Regions from separate parts of the Homo sapiens genome. Here all the other regions are linked to region 4. Evidence: promoter capture Hi-C in human tissues and cell types (Jung and others, 2019). All regions are on one chromosome and are shown on one strand. Each heading gives the region's core, a stretch centred on a gene start or on the middle of the fragment in contact. The rest is flanking DNA. Distances are from core to core; before and after follow the strand shown.

Region 1 (2,700 bases), core at 98-2,597, 85 kb before region 4:
GATGTTCCTTATCCACCTGGGCTGCAATGGGAAACAACTCCTTCTCGGCAAAGTCCCGGCATGTCTGGAGCAACATCTGGTGTGTCTCGGGCAGTTCCACAGACTGGTAGATGGTGTGTAACTGCCGCCAGGCCCTAGGACAGAGAGCTGCCGGCAAGGGCAGAAGTGAGTGGAAGGAGGAGGCAGGAGGTCTCCAAGAATCCTAGTGACCCACTAACTCACCAGGGAGGATTTTGCCCTCCAAGGGACATCTGGCAATGTCTGGAGCCAGTTCTAGTTGTCACAACTAGAGCAGGGGAATACTATTGGTACCCAGTGGATAGGGGTCCGGGATCCCTGCTGAACATCCAACAAGGCAGAGGACAGCCCCCACAACAAAGAACTGTCAGCCCAAAATGTCCATGGCGGCCACTGAAAACCCCATACTAACTGAATGCTTAGTACACTCACTAGACATTTCCATACACTACATCCTTCAGTCCTCAGTATAATACCAACAGTAATAAGACCTCAGCTCTGTGACCTTAGGCAAGGGTTTTAAACGTCAGTGAGCCTCCGTTTCTATAACAAGTGGAGGCGAATAGTATTCCGCTCCTCGGAGTGCGAAAGAAAGACTAACTAGCGCTTAACACAGTTCTCAGTAGCGTTCCCCTTGTAATTCAGGCCAGGCAAAGGAAGCCGTGGCTATATGTGTCACGGCTGCTACAACTGGAGACACGTAAGATGGGAAAGGTACTGTATTAACCAGCAAGAACGAGCATTTGTGGAACACCTGTTACACGCCAGGCACGAAGTGCTTTACATACCCTATGATTTAATCCTCCCAACAACTCTGATTTTCTCTGTGGACATTTTACACATGGGCCAACCGAGGCTGAGGAGGGGCTGTCTTGCCCAAGGTCACAGATGCGGGTCTGGTTCAATCCCAGGCCTGGCTCCGGAAGAAGGACGCACCCTGAACCTCTAGTGGGGGTGAAATGAAGGGAGGGAGATATGGGAACTGGGAACTGGGCTGGTGGCTGGGGTCAATCGGGGGGTAGGGGTCTGTGCAGGAACCAGGGACGCCTGAAGGGCCGGGCTGGGTCGGCGCAAGGAGCAGCAGAACTGGGGCAAAGGCCGTGAGCGCTCCCGGAGTGGGGCTCCGCCTGCCAGCGGCTCTGACAGAGCCGGCCGCCAGGACCTCCGCCCGCTGGGCCAGACGCGGGCTGAAGCCCCGCCGTACGGATCCCCAGCGCACTCACCTCTGCGGGCAGGGCCCGAGGCCCGGGCGAGCAGCGCGGCGGCCATGGGCGACAGACACAGTCCCAGGCTTCGCGACCTCCCGCTGCGAGCGCGCTGTTCCGGAGTGCTGGGGGGCGGGACCCGGGACAGAGGCCACGCCCGTAGGGCCTCGGGAGCGGGGCCGAGGTGCGCTCGCGGCCAGGGGGCGGGGCCTCCAGTGGTCCCTCCCAAGGCGAGGAACCGACGCTCGACTGCGCGCGCGGTCGGTCAGCTGGCTGTTCGTGCCCACATTCGTTAATCAAAATGCTAACAAGAGAAAGCTAAGGATAGAGCTTCGCAGAAAGGCCAGAGAGGTCTTTTTAAAGCATAAATAAGATAGCGATCTTCGGGTTAAAACTTTGTTGGCTTTGTCGGCGGGCCCATCCCTCCTAAAATCCAATTCTATGGCTTAAAAAGCCAAGACCTGCCTTGTCTATCAGGGCCCATGCCCACCGTTCCCTGGTTATTGTTGCTTAGCTTTACGAGGCAGCTCTTCTCTAAGACCCTTAGCTGGTTCCTGACTCGGGGCCTCTGTGATCACTGTTCCTTTTGTCTGGAATGCCCCCTCTTCGTTTAGGTCTCATGGATGCCTGCCCTGACCACACCAAGCCGTTTCTCCCCCTCTGGCTCTCTATCTTTCGTTCTGTTTATTCAAGGCACTTTGCATCTGAAATTATCTGCTTCCCCGACTCGCTCCGAGAAGCTCAAGGACCTGTCTTGTGTTGGTGCTCAATATTTAGGCCCCTGGAGTTGGGCTGCAAGGAAAGCTTTCTTTTCCCCAGAGGCTGTGAAGGTGGGTGGAGATGCTACCCCCGTTCCACTTCAGTACTGTGTCTCATTCCCGATTGGGGCAGAACCCAGACACATATTTGACCCCTAGCATCCTCATCAGGACACCTTTGCCCCGCCCAAGAAACTATGCTGATTTTACTTGTCCCATAAGGGTCTTCTCTTGTGCAAGTGTGATTCTGATTCCCATAGCCTCCTGGGCACCACCCACGCCCTCCCAGGCACCCACACATCCCTCCAACTGCCTTTCTTTCCCAGCACTCAGCCAGGCAGGCATCTGTTCCCAGCATTGACCTATTTGCCAAAACTTCTGTCTCTTCCTCTTGGAGGAAAGTGGAAACCTCGGTCACTACTTCCTAGAAGAAAGCCAATCAAAAGATGCAGCAAAGTCCTTAATGTGTTACCTTTCTTTTTAAATAATGCATTTAAAAGAACGCCTCTAAATTCTCAGTACTTTAAAGTCAAATGAATGGCTCCCATTGGCAAATGCTCTAAGGGCTTCCTCACCTTTCCGTCATCCCACCTGGGAACCAGCCCTGGGTGGAAGAAACGATGAAGAAGCAGGAGAAAAGGGAGAAATAAGTGAGTTGTGTTTGTGAGCAAAGGCCAATAATTGCTTCAGGTGCCACAGAGCATCTAAACCAGACTCTT
Region 2 (2,700 bases), core at 81-2,580, 120 kb before region 4:
TGAGTGAGCTTGTGATCTCGACTGTGTGTGTGTGTGTGTGTGTGTGTGTGTGTGTGTGTGTGTGCGCGCGCGCGCTACCCTGGCGTTAGCAAACGCTTCCAGATTCGTGCAGCCACTGACAGAAAATGCTGATGAGCTAGACCACTACACCACCTGGTCGAGGAATAACTAATTGAAAGCCCCAGAGCCCAGCTGAGGGTACTTCCTGCTTCTGTTCAAAGCAGTGCCCTCCTGCCACCTAACAGCTTAACACTACGTTAAAGTTTGGGAATAATTAAGATTGAATAGTGTTGAGGCAGCATATGATAAAACCAGAGTTCAAGAGCACATTATTTCCCAGATATCTATTCTCAGCCCCGTTTTACAGATGAGGAAGCAGATACAGAGGTCAACTTACTTGCCCAGCTCACTTGACTCACTACCTCTAGAGAGTTGATAAAAGCCCTTTTCTTGCTCAGGGAGCCTAAAAGCACCCCTTCTAGGGAGTCCTCCTAAAAATAGTGGGTTATTTTTGAATGGGTAAGATTTAAATGCTCTTTGGTTTCCCACAGAAGCAATCTGATCTCAGATCAAGCATCAGAAAGGGGCCAGGGGCATGGTGGCTCACGCCTGTAACCCCCGCACCTTGGGAGGCTGAGGCAGGCGGGTTAAGAGTTCAGGACCAGCCTGGCCAATATGGTGAAACCCTGTCTCTACTAAAAACACAAAAATGAACTGGGCATGGTGGTGAGTGCCTGTAATCCCAGCTACTCAGGAAGCTGAGGCAAGAGAATCGCTTGAACCCAGGAGTCGGAGGTTGCAGTGAGCTGAGATCTCGCCACTGCACTCACTCCAGCCTAGGTGACAGAGTGAGAACCCATCTCAAAAAAAAAAAATATCAGAAAGGGGCCAAGCGCAGCAGCTCATGCCTGTAATCCTAGCACTTTGGAAGGTCGAGGCAGGAGAATTGCCCGAGCCCAGGAGTTTGAGACCAGCCTGGCCAATATATAGGAAGACTTCATACCTGGAAAAAAAATTTTTTTTTTTTAAAGAATCAGACAGCTGTGTGTGCCTCATGTTTAAATCTGTAACTTAGAAAGTCCCTTGTTTCCCAGGGCGACCTCCGGCGGATGTGGTCTGAGCCTTTCCACTCCAAGTCCAGCAGCTCCCGATTCCTGGAAGTATGATGGATCACGTGGAAAGTGACCAGATGGCCGTCATAGTCCTTTTCTCTCAACTCATGGTTTGTTTCCTCTTAGAGCTGGCCTGGTACTCAGAAATGTACCTGTGTTTAAGGAACTGCCGTGTGACTGGATTTGGCATTTAAAGGGAGCTCGTTTGCAGGAGAGAGGTGCTGGAGCCCTGTTTGGTTCCTTCTCTTCCTGCGGATGTAGAGGTGGGGCCCCTTCCAAGAGGGACAGGCCTCTCCCCAGCGCGCCTTCCTCCCACGTTTTTATGGATCTGCACCAGACTGTTACCTTCTGGGGGAGATGGAGATTTGACTGTTTAAAAACTGAAAACAGCGAGGAGTCTTTCTAGAACTTTTGAACACTAAAAGGATGAAAAAAATTAGCAAACCGAAGTTTCTTCAATGACCCCTCGAGAACTTTGGGACCAGTTTCCTATAGGGGACTCAGTTTCAGAGAACTGAGACAGAAGCTCTTCTGTCGTTATATTCTTCTTTCCTTTTTTTGGATTTATTAAATATTTTCTGTGGTGTGAAGTGACTTATTAAATCCACAGACATTGAGTGACTTCTTACAACATCCACATAAGAATTTGTTGTAATGAGTTCATGTCCACCCAGATGTTGTGTTGGCAGTGAACAAGGGCACGGTTTTTATACATACGTACATATATATATATAAACACACACATAGATATATATGAATAAACAAAAATGAAATCCTGCTAAGATCACGCTGTGTAGCTGACAGGGGCTTGCTGTCGTTTTGAGCATGTCGAGCAGTTTACTGTGGCTTCCTTGTATATGGATAAGCTGCTGTCCTTCCCCTTCACAACTGACCCCGCAGTTACAAACTAGTATAGCATTTGTGCTGATTGATGATAGACTCATGGACTTCAGGAGCCCTTACTTGGTTTTGATCAGTGTAGCAAATTAGGGATGAAGAGTTCAAACCTTTTGGCCCTTTCTTTCTTTTCTAGGCTTCTCCCTCGCAGGGTGTTCCGTAGTTTCTTCTCGAGCCAATGCATGTATTATAGCAGCAGGTGTCTTTGTGCTTTCTCATCATAGTAACGTACTACTTGTAAATACATTTTTCTATTTTCTATTTTTTTGTATTTTTTTTTTTGACATTTTGTTTCATTGGTGTGCTGTATATTTTCCATGCCCTCACTCCTTTAAGAAAAAAAAAAAGGAAAAAAGCAACACAATCCTGTCCTTGCTGTTGTGATTATAGTCTTGGTTTACCTGTGGTGACAACCGGGTGTTGGGGACACATGTCAAATGCCCCTCTGAGATGGGCCCTAAATTCCAGTAACTGGGGAAAGAACCAGCTGCTGTGTCCTGAGAGCCTGGCCCTGTGCTGTGGTCTCTGCTGCAAGCCCAGATTTCTGGGAGTAACTAGTGTTAGGTCTGCTGACCTTTACCTAAGCAGCCCCTGCCTGGTAAGAAGGTGCCCATTGTTCAGAGGCAAAGAGAAGCCTGCGGTTGGCATGAGGATGCCTGACAACAAAGGCTGGAGAAGGGCCCTGAGTTCC
Region 3 (2,700 bases), core at 184-2,683, 79 kb after region 4:
CCCTAGATGTTTATCTTAGCTGTCGTGTTCACTGATTTAACACCCCTGGGGAAAGAACTAATAACAAGCATACAGAAAATACTCATTGTCCCCTCTTCTCTTGAGAAGGTTTAGATCTCACAGTAATGCCTACCAGCTCAATGACAGCATTTGAGGAACGGCAGCCACTTAGTAACAGGAACACACTAACCTTCCTGGGTTGAAAAACAGACTCCTTCGCCAAGGGAGCCATCAGCACCAGTTGTTCCAGAGCAGCCACAACACCAGTGACCTCCCTTCTGCTTCCGGCCAATCCCGACAGAGCCTCTTCCCGAGTCTAACGTGGCCAGAGAGAACACCAGAGAAGGTTAAGTTTCCAGACACACACTTAGCTTGAAGGGCAAGGGCTTAGAATGGCCTCTCAACAGGACCAAAAGTTAAAAGGCAATGAGACCCAATGGGAAGGAATTAGGTGCTTAAATATCTCAACTTTGAGGGAAACAGGAAGCAAAAAGCATGCAATACCCACTAAGGATTGGAATCTGCTTAGAATCTGACACTGGGGAGTGTAAATTAGTTCAATCATTGTGGAAGACAGTGTGGTGATTCCTCAAAGACCTAAAGACAGAAATAAAATTTCACCCAGCAATCCCATTACTGGGTATATAGCCAAAGGAATATAAATCATTCTACTGTAAAGACACATACGGCCAGGTGTGGTGGCTCATGCCTGTAATCCCAGCACTTTGGGAGACTGAGGTGGGCGGATCACCTGAGGTTGGAAGTTCAAGACCACCCTGACCAACATGGAGAAACCCCATCTCTACTAAAAATACAAAATAACCCAGGCATGGTGGGGCATGCCTGTAATTCCTGCTACTCAGGAGGCTGAGGCAGGAGAATCACTTGAACCTTGGAGGCAGAGGTTGTGATGAGCCGAGATCACGCCACTGCACTCCAGCCTGGGCAACGAGAGCAAAACTCTGTCTCAAAAAAAAAAAAAAAAAAAAGAAAGAAAGAAAAAGAAAAACCAAATATCGCACACATGTTCTCACTTCTAAGTGGGAGCTAAATGATGAAACATGGACACATAGAGGGGAACACACACTGAGGCCTATCAGAGGGTGGAGAGTGGGAGGAGGGAGGGGATCAGGAAAAATAACCAATGGGTACTAAGCTTAATACCTGGGTGAAAATCTGTATAACAAACCCCCATGACACAGGTTTACCATGTAACAACCTGCATTTGTACCCCTGAACTTAAAAGTTAAAAAAAATAAAAGAGAATCTGACACAAACAACACTATACAAAAAACTTCCAGAACAGAAATCTAAGAACATGAAACTAACCTAGTTTTTACAAACTATGCTCAGACAGAGGTCCAGAGTAGTAGGAAGGATTTAGCTAACTCCACCTCAGCCTGGACAGCTCTAATTCTATGTAGCCTTTCTTATGCCTGTAATGGCATTTGAACAAATACGGCTGCAACGTATTATAGAAAGAAAGCAAAAGTTAAATACACAGGACTCTACCCAAGGAGCCCTTGGGAGTCAGGGAGAAGGGAATTCAAATACCAGCTGCATCCCTTACTAGCAAATTACCCAACCCAGGATTCAGTTTCCTCATCCATGAAAGGGGATAGTTCTATCTACCACACTAGAAGCTTAAGTGAGATAAATGTGTATAGCACAAGTCCTATCAAATGCTGATCACTCAATAAATATGGGCTTCTATTGCTCTAAGCTAGATCAGTGGTTCCAGGAGTGTGGTCTGGGGATGAGCAGCCATCAGAATCACCCTAGAACTTGTTATATGCAAATTACTGAGCCTACTGAGCTTAACCTATGCAATCAATATCTCAAAGTGGGACCTAACAACCAGTGGTTGTGATGCTTCAAGAATCTCTGTTGTGGAAGATAAAAGACCCAGGGAATTCTGTTCTTGTGTAATTCTTGCCGTTTCAGGTACTCCTAAGGCATACTGGGCAGGCCATAATACTTTCTCCACAATGTCTTTCAAAACACCTCTAGAATAGAATCTTAAGTATTTTCCCAGAAAACAAAGAACTCTAACTTGCTTTAAGAACATAGCTAATCTAAAAAACTCCACTGTCACAATTAGTTATAAAATCATTTTGACTTGCTCCTTTCAGCTCTAGAAAGAGCTTTAAAAGCCCTAGGTTAAACCTTCTCTACTGTCATCAAACAAAGCCCAAAACAAATTGGCTTTTTTAGCCATTCTCTGCTTATTGTCTTAAATGTGGAATGGAACTAACTTAATCCCCAGCGTCCATCATCTCACCCCCGACAGAGTGAAAAGGTTTAGCATTTCTGGTTTTCACCACAGAACGCCGAGAAAGTGAAAAGGTTTAGCATCTCCAATGCATCCTCTCACCTTGAGCTCCTGGATAGCTGCCTCAATAAAGCAGGACTCGGGAGTGTGCTTCTCCTCTGCCAGCTGCTGCTCTAGTGCTACTTTCTCCTCCAGAACTACCCGGTGCAGCACCTGCTCCTTAGAGGCCAGCAGCAACTTGGAGTACTGGCTGTGCTGTTCATCTATAAGAATGCCAGCAAGATCAAAGAAATGCAACATTCAAAGCTCACGATGGTGTAGCTAAATAGGAATTTTCAAATACAGCCTTTTCTCTGGGGTGAAAATGGGGTAATTTAGCATGATTTCCTAGAAAATAATTTAACAATGGTCTTAAAATAAGGTCTGTA
Region 4 (2,700 bases), core at 111-2,610:
CTCACCCTTCCAATGGCATCCCTAGAGTGACAGCCTCCTTAAACCACCCCAAAGTTCCAGTTTGAGCCACAGCTCTGCATGCCCCTCCATGCCTACCCAGACACCTCTTCTCTTTCCTCATATTTTTGGATCTCCTAACTTTTCTCAGGCCTTCAGGGACATGATAGGCAGTGGCCAGTGTCCCTCGCCCTCAAGTAATTCTGTGTTCTCTGAGGTCCCCTCTCTTGACCCCCAGACTCCAAACCGCTTGCTCTCCTGAGTCCCTCCCTGGCGGTACTGGCCAGAGGCCAGAGGAGTGGGTTTGGCGCCACCTGCTCGGAGCGCCCCTCCTTGACCCCCGCAAATCTCCAGGACGGTCGTAGAGGTCGCTCTCTTCCAGGACTGGCGGGTTCTGGCGGGTATGAGGGAGGCTAGCGGGGAGGGCCTTGCCCCAAGAGGCCCGGAGCGTGGACAGCGCACGGGGTGCTGAATCAGGCACGGGGAGGAGGAGTGCCGGCAAGGGCGCCGGCCCGGGGAGGACGAGGTGAGCCGAGGCGTGATCCGTGGGGGACCACGGGCCGCGGGAGGAGGCTGTGGACGCGCAACCGCGGCCGGCAGGGTCCCGAGCGCCTTTCCCGGGAGCGCTGACGGGAGGCGCGGCCCTTACCTGGCCAAAGGCGGAGCTGAGCATGGGGCGCAGCCGGTGGAGGAACGGGTCCGCCTCGGACGCGGCGGCTGGAACGGAGTCCCCGCGGCCCCGGGCTCGCAGAGAGCCCCGGAGGCCGAGCGCCGGGGACAGTCCCCGTTCCTCCCCATCCCGCCCGCGGGCCGGCGGCAGCGGCGACGACGGCGAAGGTCGGGACGCCGCGGCCGGCAGCGCCTCCCGGGGCCTGCAGTGCGCCTGGGGGAGCACACGCTGGCTCCCCCGCGCGCCCTCCTCTCGCGGCGCCGGCCGGCACAGGGGCCTCCGCGAACTGGGGTCCCCGGACGACTGCGGCGTCGCCGGGCAGGAGCCGGGTAGCCGGCGGCTAGGCAGCCCCGGGTCCCGGGCAGGGCCGTGGCGGGGAGCCCGGCTGCCCCCGCTCGCCGCCGCCGCCGCCGCCTTCAGCAGCGACGTCTTGGACTCGCTTTTGGCGATGTGCGAGCTCATCGCGGCGGGGCCCGCGCTCGCATGGCCCGGCGGGGGCGGCGCGGTGCGGCGCGGCGCGGGGCCCCCGGCGGGCAGAGAACGGGGCTCCCGGCGGGAGCCAAGCCCGAGGACGCGCTGGAGGCGGGCGCCGTCCCCCGGCCGCTTAAATGCGGCCCCGTCGCCGCCGCCCATGTGACAGCGCAGCCTCTACGCCCGGAGCCCGGAGCTCCCGGCGGCTGGCGGTGCAGATCTGGGGGCGCTGCCGGCTGTCCCCGGAGAGCCCACCCCCGGCTCCCTGGCGGCCCAGGTACCGCCGCGCCCCGCCCCTTGCCCCGCCCCGCCCTGGGGGAGCCCCGCTTCCGGGCGGCCCCTGGCGGCGAAGGGGACGCTGCAACGCGGAGCGGGAGCACGAGGAGGGAAGGGGCTTGGCAATGGGCCCCAAAGAGGCCGAGACCCCGGGAGTGCCGGCAGCGCTCTTTATCACGCCTGGAGGCTCCTGCAGAGCCCCGGAACCGCCCGAACCTCCAGAAATGCAGGCAGGGTGCACTCCCCAGGGGGTACAACTTTGGCAATGAGGACTACAGAGGTCCGGGGAGAACCGGAGACCCGAGGAGCATGAAGGCACTCTGTGACATCACTGCCTACAAACGCAGGGGCCGGAATGCAGTGACAGGACACTGCTGGGAGGAAAGTCTCCCAGCGCCTCCGTGTGGGGCTGCCTCCACTCCCAATACCGTGCGGGGGGACTAGGACGACCCTGGTAAGTCAGCCACAGGATATCAGTTCTCAGAATAGAAGAGAAGCCAGGTCTGGCAGCACCTGATGATGGTAAGTCTCAGGTAGGACCCATTTGCTCCCCCTCCAGCTCTTGTCCCCTCTTTCACCTTCCTGCCTTTCTAGATGCTACAGAAATTCCTGCTCTCGGTGGGCAGCCAGGGAGCGTCCCAGGCCTTATCTGAATCTCAAATCCCAGCTCTGCCACCTACCATCTGGGTAACTTGGGCAGGTGTCATCAACCTCTCTGAGCCTTGTTCTCCTCTTCTGTAAAATGCAGATGATAAGCATAACTAATTTCTTGGTAACAGCAGACGATACTATGCACACAAAAGGCCTAGCCCAGTGCTCGGACAGGGGACCATCCAGTTAAGCCAGTTCCCTTCCCCCTGCACATCGTGAGGCCCCATCTACCATTCTTCTTTAGTATCCGGTGCTTGAGCTTTGCGGGGGGCTGGAGGGGTTCCTCCCAGGCTCTCCCTGTTCTGGTCCCTGGCCCCAATGCCATCCACAGTCTTGTCACCGCTCGGCCTCATTAAAAGGATACACGAGGCCGGGCACAGTGGCTCGCACCTGTAATCCCAGCACTTTGGGAGGCCAAGACCGGCGGATCACTTGAGGTCAGGAGTTCGAGACCAGCCTGGCCAACATGGTGAAACCCTGTCTCTACTAAAAATACAAAAATTAGCCAGGCGTGGTGGTGGGCGCCTGTAATCCCAGCCACTTGTAGGCATGAGAATAACTTGAACCCGGGAAGTGAAAGTTGCAGTGAGCCGAGATTGGGTCACTACACTCCAGCCTGGGCAACAGAGTGAGAC

The links. Contacts are between HindIII fragments. The study calls those that stand out against the background at their distance.
Region 1: the fragment with the promoter of ACADS here is called in contact with the fragment with the promoter of CABP1 in region 4 in 4 of the 25 tissues and cell types used here (IMR-90 fibroblasts, adrenal gland, heart left ventricle and 1 more).
Region 2: a fragment that was not itself captured here is called in contact with the fragment with the promoter of CABP1 in region 4 in 2 of the 25 tissues and cell types used here (bladder and stomach).
Region 3: a contact is called between a fragment that was not itself captured here and the fragment with the promoter of CABP1 in region 4, in 4 of the 25 tissues and cell types used here (aorta, heart left ventricle, neural progenitor cells and 1 more).

What each region holds. Positions count from the first base shown.
Region 1 is chr12:120,724,473-120,727,172 of GRCh38, reverse strand. It overlaps ACADS (acyl-CoA dehydrogenase short chain), which reads right to left and starts at 1,347. Exons shown (of 10, transcript NM_000017.4): 1 at 1,242-1,347; 2 at 1-147. The coding sequence starts at 1,287. RefSeq lists a silencer at 1,028-1,537 and an enhancer at 1,174-1,675. The HindIII fragment of the contact is 31,377 bases long and covers 1-2,700 here.
Region 2 is chr12:120,763,465-120,766,164 of GRCh38, reverse strand. It overlaps SPPL3 (signal peptide peptidase like 3), which reads left to right. Exons shown (of 11, transcript NM_139015.5): 11 at 1,095-2,700. The coding sequence ends at 1,166. Among named protein-coding and RNA genes, the nearest start is that of ACADS, 39 kb to the right of the region's middle. The HindIII fragment of the contact is 7,096 bases long and covers 1-2,700 here.
Region 3 is chr12:120,560,561-120,563,260 of GRCh38, reverse strand. RNF10 (ring finger protein 10) reads right to left here. Exons shown (of 17, transcript NM_014868.5): 7 at 2,375-2,535; 8 at 191-316. Among named protein-coding and RNA genes, the nearest start is that of POP5, 19 kb to the left of the region's middle. The HindIII fragment of the contact is 5,481 bases long and covers 1-2,700 here.
Region 4 is chr12:120,639,286-120,641,985 of GRCh38, reverse strand. It overlaps CABP1 (calcium binding protein 1), which reads right to left and starts at 1,360. Exons shown (of 6, transcript NM_001033677.2): 1 at 647-1,360. The coding sequence starts at 1,300. It overlaps CABP1-DT (CABP1 divergent transcript), which reads left to right and starts at 1,464. Exons shown (of 2, transcript NR_183426.1): 1 at 1,464-1,936. RefSeq lists silencers at 381-480, 701-870, 881-980, 1,201-1,500. The HindIII fragment of the contact is 37,846 bases long and covers 1-2,700 here.